3 separate regions of the Homo sapiens genome follow, and regions 1 and 2 are each linked to region 3. Evidence: promoter capture Hi-C in 16 types of primary human blood cells and fetal thymus (Javierre and others, 2016). All regions are on one chromosome and are shown on one strand. The core of a region is centred on a gene start or on the middle of the fragment in contact, and the rest is flanking DNA. Distances in the headings are between cores, read along the strand shown.

Evidence for each region. The method cuts DNA at HindIII sites, captures the fragments that hold promoters and counts their contacts. A CHiCAGO score of 5 or more calls a contact.
Region 1: a contact is called between the fragment with the promoter of PPP4R2 here and the fragment with the promoter of KBTBD8 in region 3, in 3 of 17 cell types (total B cells, total CD4 T cells and fetal thymus). The highest score is 5.8, in total B cells.
Region 2: a contact is called between the fragment with the promoter of FHIT here and the fragment with the promoter of KBTBD8 in region 3, in 1 of 17 cell types (fetal thymus). The highest score is 8.8, in fetal thymus.

What each region holds. Positions count from the first base shown.
Region 1 is chr3:72,995,438-72,998,137 of GRCh38, reverse strand. PPP4R2 (protein phosphatase 4 regulatory subunit 2) reads right to left here and starts at 1,327. Exons shown (of 9, transcript NM_174907.4): 1 at 1,067-1,327; 2 at 1-61. The coding sequence starts at 1,100. LOC124909395 (a long non-coding RNA gene) reads left to right here and starts at 947. Exons shown (of 2, transcript XR_007095961.1): 1 at 947-1,031. RefSeq lists enhancers at 343-392, 1,653-1,702 and a silencer at 843-1,472. The HindIII fragment of the contact is 5,282 bases long and covers 1-2,700 here.
Region 2 is chr3:61,250,148-61,252,847 of GRCh38, reverse strand. FHIT (fragile histidine triad diadenosine triphosphatase) reads left to right here and starts at 1,396. Exons shown (of 10, transcript NM_002012.4): 1 at 1,396-1,547. It overlaps LOC124909387 (a long non-coding RNA gene), which reads right to left and starts at 1,256. Exons shown (of 2, transcript XR_007095939.1): 1 at 1,221-1,256. RefSeq lists enhancers at 1,299-1,593, 1,658-1,717, 1,848-1,977, 2,118-2,247, 2,528-2,700. The HindIII fragment of the contact is 4,935 bases long and covers 77-2,700 here.
Region 3 is chr3:66,997,019-66,999,752 of GRCh38, reverse strand. KBTBD8 (kelch repeat and BTB domain containing 8) reads right to left here and starts at 1,446. Exons shown (of 4, transcript NM_032505.3): 1 at 1,382-1,446; 2 at 562-772. The coding sequence starts at 1,397. RefSeq lists a silencer at 1,029-1,348 and an enhancer at 1,689-1,788. The HindIII fragment of the contact is 2,180 bases long and covers 1-1,482 here.

The DNA of each region.
Region 1 (2,700 bases), core at 78-2,577, 6.0 Mb before region 3:
ACATGACAAAGAAACTGATCCAGGACAGGACAAACTTCCTTTTTCCCCCTCTTCTCAAAATCTAGATGAAGGAAGAAAAAAAAACGTTATCAGTTTTCTCAAAAGCGCTCTAAAAACAAACTTTCCTCCTAGTCCTTTACCTTATTAAAAATCAATTAAATACAAAATTAAAAAAATAAGGCCTCTCAACCAAATTACCACCTCAATCCTCCAAGTTCTACTTCCAACATGTCACCCTCTTTACAGATAACAAGAATCCTCCTAAAGGGGGCACTCAACTTCACAAACCATTTTTAACGCAGTGCTTCTCGAAGTGTGGTCCGGGGGAACACCAGCATTATATTAAGCTGGGAATCCAGTGAAAATAAAAATCCCCAGGCCCCGACTCCCACCAATTGTTCATCTAAGTCCATAAATCTGCCTTTCTAAGAAGCACCAACTACCCCAAGTTGCCGTCCCCAAATGATTCTGAATGTCAAAGAATAATTCTCAAAACGCTGAAATCTCTCTACTCGAAGTTTGTAAGCCACTGTTCTCAAGCCTGTTGCGTGGAAGGCGTGCAATCAAGAACAGTGAAGGCAACCACCTCGAAATTAGGGCGCGGAAAGATGACTTCAAAAGCCCTGAAAAAGGCATACTGAGACAACTTAAAAGTTGCGATGCTACCCCCTACCCCCGCCCCCACCAACCGTTTACTTTTTCTCCCACCCCAACGCCTAGCGTACGGGTAGCCTGGTGGAGAAAAGAGGATATCTGGGAGGGAGGGGTCTGCGGGTCCGCCACTCGTCCCCTGAACGGGTGGGAGAAAGACTGGGGCCCCCGCAAGAGTTTCCCCGGCTCCCCTCCCCCAGCCCAGACGCCGGCGGCCGACACAAAGCCAGAGCGGGGCGGGAGAGAGCTGCCCACAGGGCTCCCCGCCCCTGGGGAGGTGGAGGGGGATGGGAGCCCGGGAAGCACTCTCCCCACGCCGCGCCCGGCCCCGGTCCTCGGAACCATCCGCCCTGAAAGGAGAGAAGAGCGAGCCGGAGAAGGTGAGGGGGAATGGAGAGGGGGCAGCTACCCCCACCTTTCAGCGCCTCCTGGAGCCTCTCGACGTCCATGGCTTCCCGGAGTCCCTCACAGCCTCCGCCTCCCTCCGCGGGTCTCTTGGGGACCGGAACGCCTCCCCCCACCCCCCCGACGCCCTCCCCCTCCCTCGCACACACTCCGGCACGCAGGCGACCGGGGGGGGGAAACGAAGGGAGCCGGGGGAAGCGTGCGAGAGAGCAAGACCGACAGAGCGAGCACCTCCCCAAGCCGCTACCACCAACCCTCCAACATGGCGCCCGGTACGTCACCGCGCGCACGCTCCCTGCCGCCGTCCTCGCTCCCGCCGCGCGCTCCGGCCCGGAACCCGAGAGCGCGTGCGCGGCCGAGGTGTGACGCTGGGGCCCAGTGGCGTCTGCGTCCCGGCGGCTTCCAGAGCCTCAGCCCCAGCCCCAGCCCCAGGCCCAGGCTCCGCGGAGCTGAAGACTGGACGGTCAGGCGAGAGGGTTGCAGGCGGACTCCTAGGCTTTGAATCCCTGCCATTTCCTCTCTGTGTGAACTTAAGCTACTTACTTCGCCTGTCTGAGCCTCATTTTCCCCATCTGTACAGTAAGGGCACTGGTACTGATGCCCTATGCAGTTGCTGTGAGAATTCAGTGTATACACTTCACGTTCAGAATGCGCCTAAAAAACGTAGAGCGAGGCCGGGCAGGGGGCTCAGGCCGGTGATCCCAACACTTTGGGAGGGAGGCCGAGGCGAGAGGATCGCTTGAGCCCAGGAGTTCGAGACCAGTCTGGGTAACAAAATGACCCCGCTCCCTCGCCCTTCTCTATATAAAAATAAATACAGGCCGGGCGCGGTGACTCAAGCCTGTAATCCCAGCACTTTGGGAGGCTGGGGCGGGCGGAGCACCTGAAGTCAGGAGTTGAAGACCAACCTGGCCAACATGGCGAAACCCCGTCTCTACTAAAAATACAAAATGTAGTCGGGCGTGGTCGCTCGTGCCTGTAATCCCAGTTACTCGGGAGGCTGAGGCACGAGAATCGCTTGAATCCAGGAGGCGGAGGTTGCAGTGAGCCGATATCGCGCCACTGCCTCCAGCCTAGGCGACAAAGCGAGACTGTTTCAAAAAAATAATAATAAAATTAACAATACATACATACACTAAGCATTGCTAATAATCCTAACAAGAATACCTCCCTGCTTAACCCAACGTTCGTTCGTCACTGGCCCACCTGTGGCAAGAAGTAATGTATACAGCAAAGTCATTAAGAGCTCAAGGTTTGGAATCAATATTCAAATCCCAACTCAACTACTTACTCCTTGTGTGGCCCTGAAGTAGTTACCTAAACTCAGGCAGCTTCAGGGTTCTTATTTATAAAATGAGGGTTGTAAAACGGCCACGAGGATTGAGTGAAATGGCAAATGTGAAACATTTGGCACAGTGCGTGAAACCTGGAACACTCAACGTGGCTGGGTTTTTATTACCACTGTTAGCATTATTACATGACATAATCTCCCAGGAGGTAGGAGAGGGCGGAAACCTCAGAAGTCCTCTGCAGCCCTGACATTTTACAAATGGGAAAGCTGTGTCACAGACAGCAAGTCTGGGGAGACAGAACTAGAACCCAGAACCCAAATCATCTGGCTCCCAGCCAGTGCGTGGACATTTT
Region 2 (2,700 bases), core at 147-2,646, 5.7 Mb after region 3:
TTGATAATATTTTATGTGGCCATGGTGTCTGTGTGATGAACTATAATCCAATGTGACATTCTCTGAGAGTCAAGCTTCCAAGGACATCAGATTTTCACACCAGGACACTTTGTAGGACACCTTGCTACTCTCCATGGGATTCAAATATTAGAAATAATGAGAGATCTAAGACTTGATGTAATTGCCTGCATGTAATGAATCAGGCCAAATAAAAAAGTGAGAGACAGAGAAAGGAAATGGTGCTAAGGAAAATGGGGACCTATCTTAGTGTTTGTCTGAGAGAAAACTGCTCTTTGTTTTTCCCGATGTAATGGCAAGAGTCTGCAGCCAGGAATCTAGTCCTTGCTTAGGAGCTGCATGACCTTGTGAAAATTACGTAGGTGTTCTGCAATTTGTAATTGCATTTATTGTAAAATTAATTTTACTTTTCATACGTCACTAGACAGAGCATTTTGAGGTTAGGAATTGGGTCTGAATCAATGATTTCTCCAGCACCCACATGGCATTTGGCACAGAATACATCAATAATGATTTTGGATTAAACAGGGGAACAAGCACAAGGAACCATGGTGGTCAGAAACGGGTTGATCTGCACCAGAGAAAGGGAGACTAGGGGAGAAAGGTCACTCTAGATTTCGTTCAATTATTGAAAATACGGTGTATTTACTATGTGCTGGGCACTTTTCTAGGTGCTAGAAAGACTACAGTGACCAAAACAAAAATCCACATCTGCAGGGATCTTGCATTCTAGTGAGAAAGTAAGATGGTAAAAAAGATAAATACGTAAATTTTATACAATGCTTCGTAACGACAAATGCTAAGGAGAAAAACAGCACAGAAAAGACAGAAAGGAAAAGAGAAGGGGCGCATGTGGTGCAATTTTGTTAGGATGCCAGGGAGGGCTGAGCGTAGTCGTAAATGACCACATTATTTGATGGATCAAGCCAGGGACTGCAAGTCTGTGTTTCTGAGAGACACATAAAGAAAAGAAGGCTTAAGGAATCCAGAAAGATCCAGAGTGGGGAAATGAAACGAAAAGAAATCCAGCCAGTGGGAAGTCGTGAAGGGATAGTTAAACGCGTTTTGGGAGGAAAGAAAAAAGCAAAAGTGCGGTACAGCCTTTCGTTACACGTGAAAAGAATCATGTTTCTTTTTCTAGTTAGAAAAAGCCAAAGATTGTGCGATTTATGCCCCAAACCCCCTTGTAAGGGGATTCTCACCTCAACTTGTCTTCTGTGGTCAGTGTTTCCCGCCCCTGAATCAGGGTTACTGTCACTATGGCTTTCAATTGGCCCGGCGTAGGCGCATGCTCTGCGCGTATTGGCCTCCGCTCCTGTCCCCAGACAAGCGGCCATCTTGGGTCCCGCCCCTACCGTGGGGTCTTCTGGGAATTGCAGTCCCCGCTCTGCTCTGTCCGGTCACAGGACTTTTTGCCCTCTGTTCCCGGGTCCCTCAGGCGGCCACCCAGTGGGCACACTCCCAGGCGGCGCTCCGGCCCCGCGCTCCCTCCCTCTGCCTTTCATTCCCAGCTGTCAACATCCTGGAAGGTAGGGGCGGGGAGGCAAGCCCAAGTGGAATACTGTTTCTGGGGCGCGGGTCTGGGTTTCCACGCGCGTCAGGTCATCACCCCGGAGCCCAGTGGGGCCGGCGCCGCTCACGGGGCGGTGGGCTTCTGTCCCGAGTACTCTTCCGCCCCACGAGGGTCTCAGGGTGGGGACTCGGGCCCCCCAATTCCCAAGCACCGACCCTAGCCCTAACCCGTTCCTCCTCCACCGTGTTTATACATTGGGGAAACTGAGGCACGGGGCCACGCCAGCGGGTCCGGGGACGCCACAGCTCTTGGCTCTGGGGGTGTAGTCGGCACCCGCCGTTTTGGGATGGTTCGTCAGTTTCATAGACAAGTAGCGAAAATCCGTCCCAACAGGTCTGTGTTAAACACGCAGCTCTGGATTCCCCTAAGGGGTTGCTGAACACGTGCCCAGGACAGGAGCAAACCGGAGTATAGAGAAGGCAGCATTTTGGGAGATAATTTTACATTACTACTTCAAAAACAGGCAAAGAGGCATCGAATTTATTGTTGTGGGAGAACTCATCGGTACTTGGTCGGACTTTCTTACACTTATTTTATGGTTGTTGTTTTTATTTTTAGCGTCAAAGGGGGGAATTTTAAAGGTATATCCAAGTTGGTGGTGGTGGGGGGTAAGGAGGCAGGTTAGTGGAACTTGAGATGCATCTGCAGATTTCTCTGTAGGCTCACATTCTGCCCTCGCTGTGTTACCTTGGAACAGCCACTCACAGCGCTTATCTGGGAAACAAGGAGCTCAATGCTCCCAGGTCAAGTGGCCAAAGGATGTTGCCTGAAGCCGAAATCTAAATTGAGGTTATGCTTGTGAAAGTTTACCACTTGCAGATTTACTGCTATTATTATTCTGGTCTCTCAGAAATGTGCTGGGACCAATAGAAAATACTCACAGTGGTTGTTTTAGTAAGGTTCTGACCTGGGCCGGGCCCAGACTACCAAGGGTGGTCCCTACTCGCACCTGATGTTAAGCCGGATCTACCTGAACTCTCCCTCCTTGGCTTCAGCCTGCGGCCTGAGGCCTTGGCCGCGGAGGCTTCTGGGAGTTGCAGTCCCGCCTCTTGTTTCTCGTCGGGCAGGTACTCCACCTCGTGGCGTGCCATTTTGCACGGCGAGATGTC
Region 3 (2,734 bases), core at 197-2,696:
TTTGAAGGAACATGCTACATGTTTTAAACTATTTTATAAAAGAGTCCCATACACTAAAGAAACATGCATTATGGATAACTTTTTGAAAGAAATTCTAGATCAGCACTGTCCAATAAAATTGTCAATGATGAAAATGCTGTATTTCTGTGCTGCCCAATATGGCAGCCACTAGCTGCAGGTGACCAGCAAGCACTCAAAAAGTATTTAGTGTACCTGGGGAACTAAATGTTTTATTTTATTTAACTTATAATTTAAGTTTAAACAGCCACACATGGCTACTGGCTTCCATACTGACCAGCACAAGTCTAGATTTTCTGGTCATTTACCTCAAACACACACACACAGGCCCACTAACTTAAAAAGCAATCACCCGAAATCTAGAAGAATCCCTCAAGTCAAAAGAAGGTCTTAGTTAAGAGAGGACTTGTTTTCTAGTCTCAAGAAACAAAGTCATTGGTTTCATTTCATTATCGCATCTCAATATAAACATCAAGTGGACAATACTGAGGGGGAAAGGGAGCTTGGTGCAGATACCAACAGAAGTTCCTACCATCATCATACCTGAAGTAAGGGCTGATTGCAGCAAGAACGTTTCTATGACAGGAAAATGTTTTCCCGTGATCCACTTCCACTACAATGTCTGTCAACTGTCCTTCATCGTACATTGTTTTGAGTTGCTTAAGAATACTGCAAGCATGGAAGGGGTCCATGGCATCGCTGGCTGGGTCTGAAGATGGAATCCCATTCGGTGTTGGGGAAGACTTACTTAAATCTAGGAGGAGAAAAATCGTACAACTACAAGAAGTGCCGAGCCAGTTACGGCATCGCGGGATTTTTCTGTTTGTGTGTCTGCTTGCTAGGCTTTTTCCCCCTACAAGATATATACAAATGTCTGTGGATATACGCACGACCTCGTGGGACCGCGAGTTAAGGATCTGGGAGACAGAGGGCGGAGCGCGATCGGCGGAACAAGTTCAAAGGCCAGCCTGCTCCTGCGGAGCCCGGCGAGCCCGGCACCCGTGCTCGCGGAGGAAACGCGCTCGCAGCCCAGGAGAGGCGTCTGCGCGGACTCCGCCGAGAGCCGAGGGCAGAGCCTCACGAGGGAAGCTCGAACAACGGCGGCCGCCGGTGCCCCCTCAAGCCGCCTCCCGCTGCCTCCTGGGGCGCAGCGCCGGCGGGTACCCAGCCTCCCCATCCCGGTCCCGCCGGACCGCCCACCGCCCTCCGCACCATTCATCCTCCCTCTTCTCATTCCCCTCCACCGCTTCATCCTTCCCTCTAGCTCCGCACCGCTACGTCCTCATCCCACTGCCTGTGGCCGGCCCCGGCCCACCTTCCCCCTCACCTCCCTCCACGCCGCCCTGGCCACCACACGACCCACCTGCCGACGCGGCCATTTCTCGATGGGGCCCCGACTCCAGCTATTTAAAAAGGAAATGTCATTTCGCTTCTCTAGCTCCCGGGTTCCGGCTCTTCTAAGCTTCCCCTGGCCAATGGGGTGTCCTGTGCATCTGGCTCCACCCCTAGCCTCCGAATTCCTGGCGCTGATTGGCCACGACGCGAGCACATGCGTGTCGGGAAATGTAGTTTGATTGCCCCGGCTCCCGCGTGGTCCGGGTCGGGCGGAGGCCCAAGCCGGGAATTCCTATTGGCTGATTCGGATGGAGGTGGAGAGCAGGGAGCTGGCCAGCCTGTGGCCGTCGAGCGCGCAGTGCCTGCCGGGAGAGGTAGTCTTCTGGCGGAGGAGAACTGTCATTCTGAGGGGCTGGGGTAGGGAAAGCTCTTCAAGTGCGAATTTCCCCATTTTAGGCCTCTCTCCTGGCCCCCGGCACATTTTTTTACCTTTTTCTTCTTCCGTAAACTTCCTGCCAGTGACTAGCTTCCGGTATGAAATCAAGCTCTGCGTGAGAGCTGTAAAACCAGAAAAATGTGGAAATGGACAGGAGGGCTGTTGTCCAAAAATGCAAAGGAAATCTGACGTCCCACCCTGAAGAAAAATATCACAAGGCCCAAAAGCAAGGCGTCTCTGATGAGTCACCTATGACACCCAATTGAAATAGCATCGCCTTGGCCGGGTGCTCTGGTTTCCACAGATTAACTTGGTCTGGTTACAGCGGCTGCTTAGGATCTTCAACTCCCACTGGTGCCTTGCTTTTCTAGCACACCCAGAGAACACCTGTTCCTCACGTGAACATTACAAGGGGATCCAAGATGCTTTACTTTTTGCTCTTGGGAAATGGAGGGGATACAATACTAAGTATTCCGGAATTTCCTTTGAAAAAATACCGGAATGCCCTGAGCCCGGAGCCAGGGATGATTACTGAAGCCCTGGCTCTTTAGTCACTATATGTGAGAACTGACATAAGACCTTTCAACCCCTGAGCGCTTAGATCCTTCATCTGTAACGTGAAGTAATAGTAATCCGTACTCCATGGATTTCATAGGCTGCAACCTTTTGGAAAGAAAATCAAAATTTTACTGTTGACGAATTTTTATTTACTCATCTTGTGTTTCTAACATCTAACGGGGTGCCTGGCACATTATAGATGTTTCATATTTTAAAAATAAATGTAAGGTGCAAATGAGCTAACATTGGGAATGCTATTTCTAGATGTTAAAATGTAAGGAAGTATCAGCGAATGGGAAGAATTTCTAGTAGACATATAGTTAGCCCGTGTGCATAACTTTTCTAGCACTGAAAAGATCAAACCGTTGAACTTCTTGATAAAGAAAG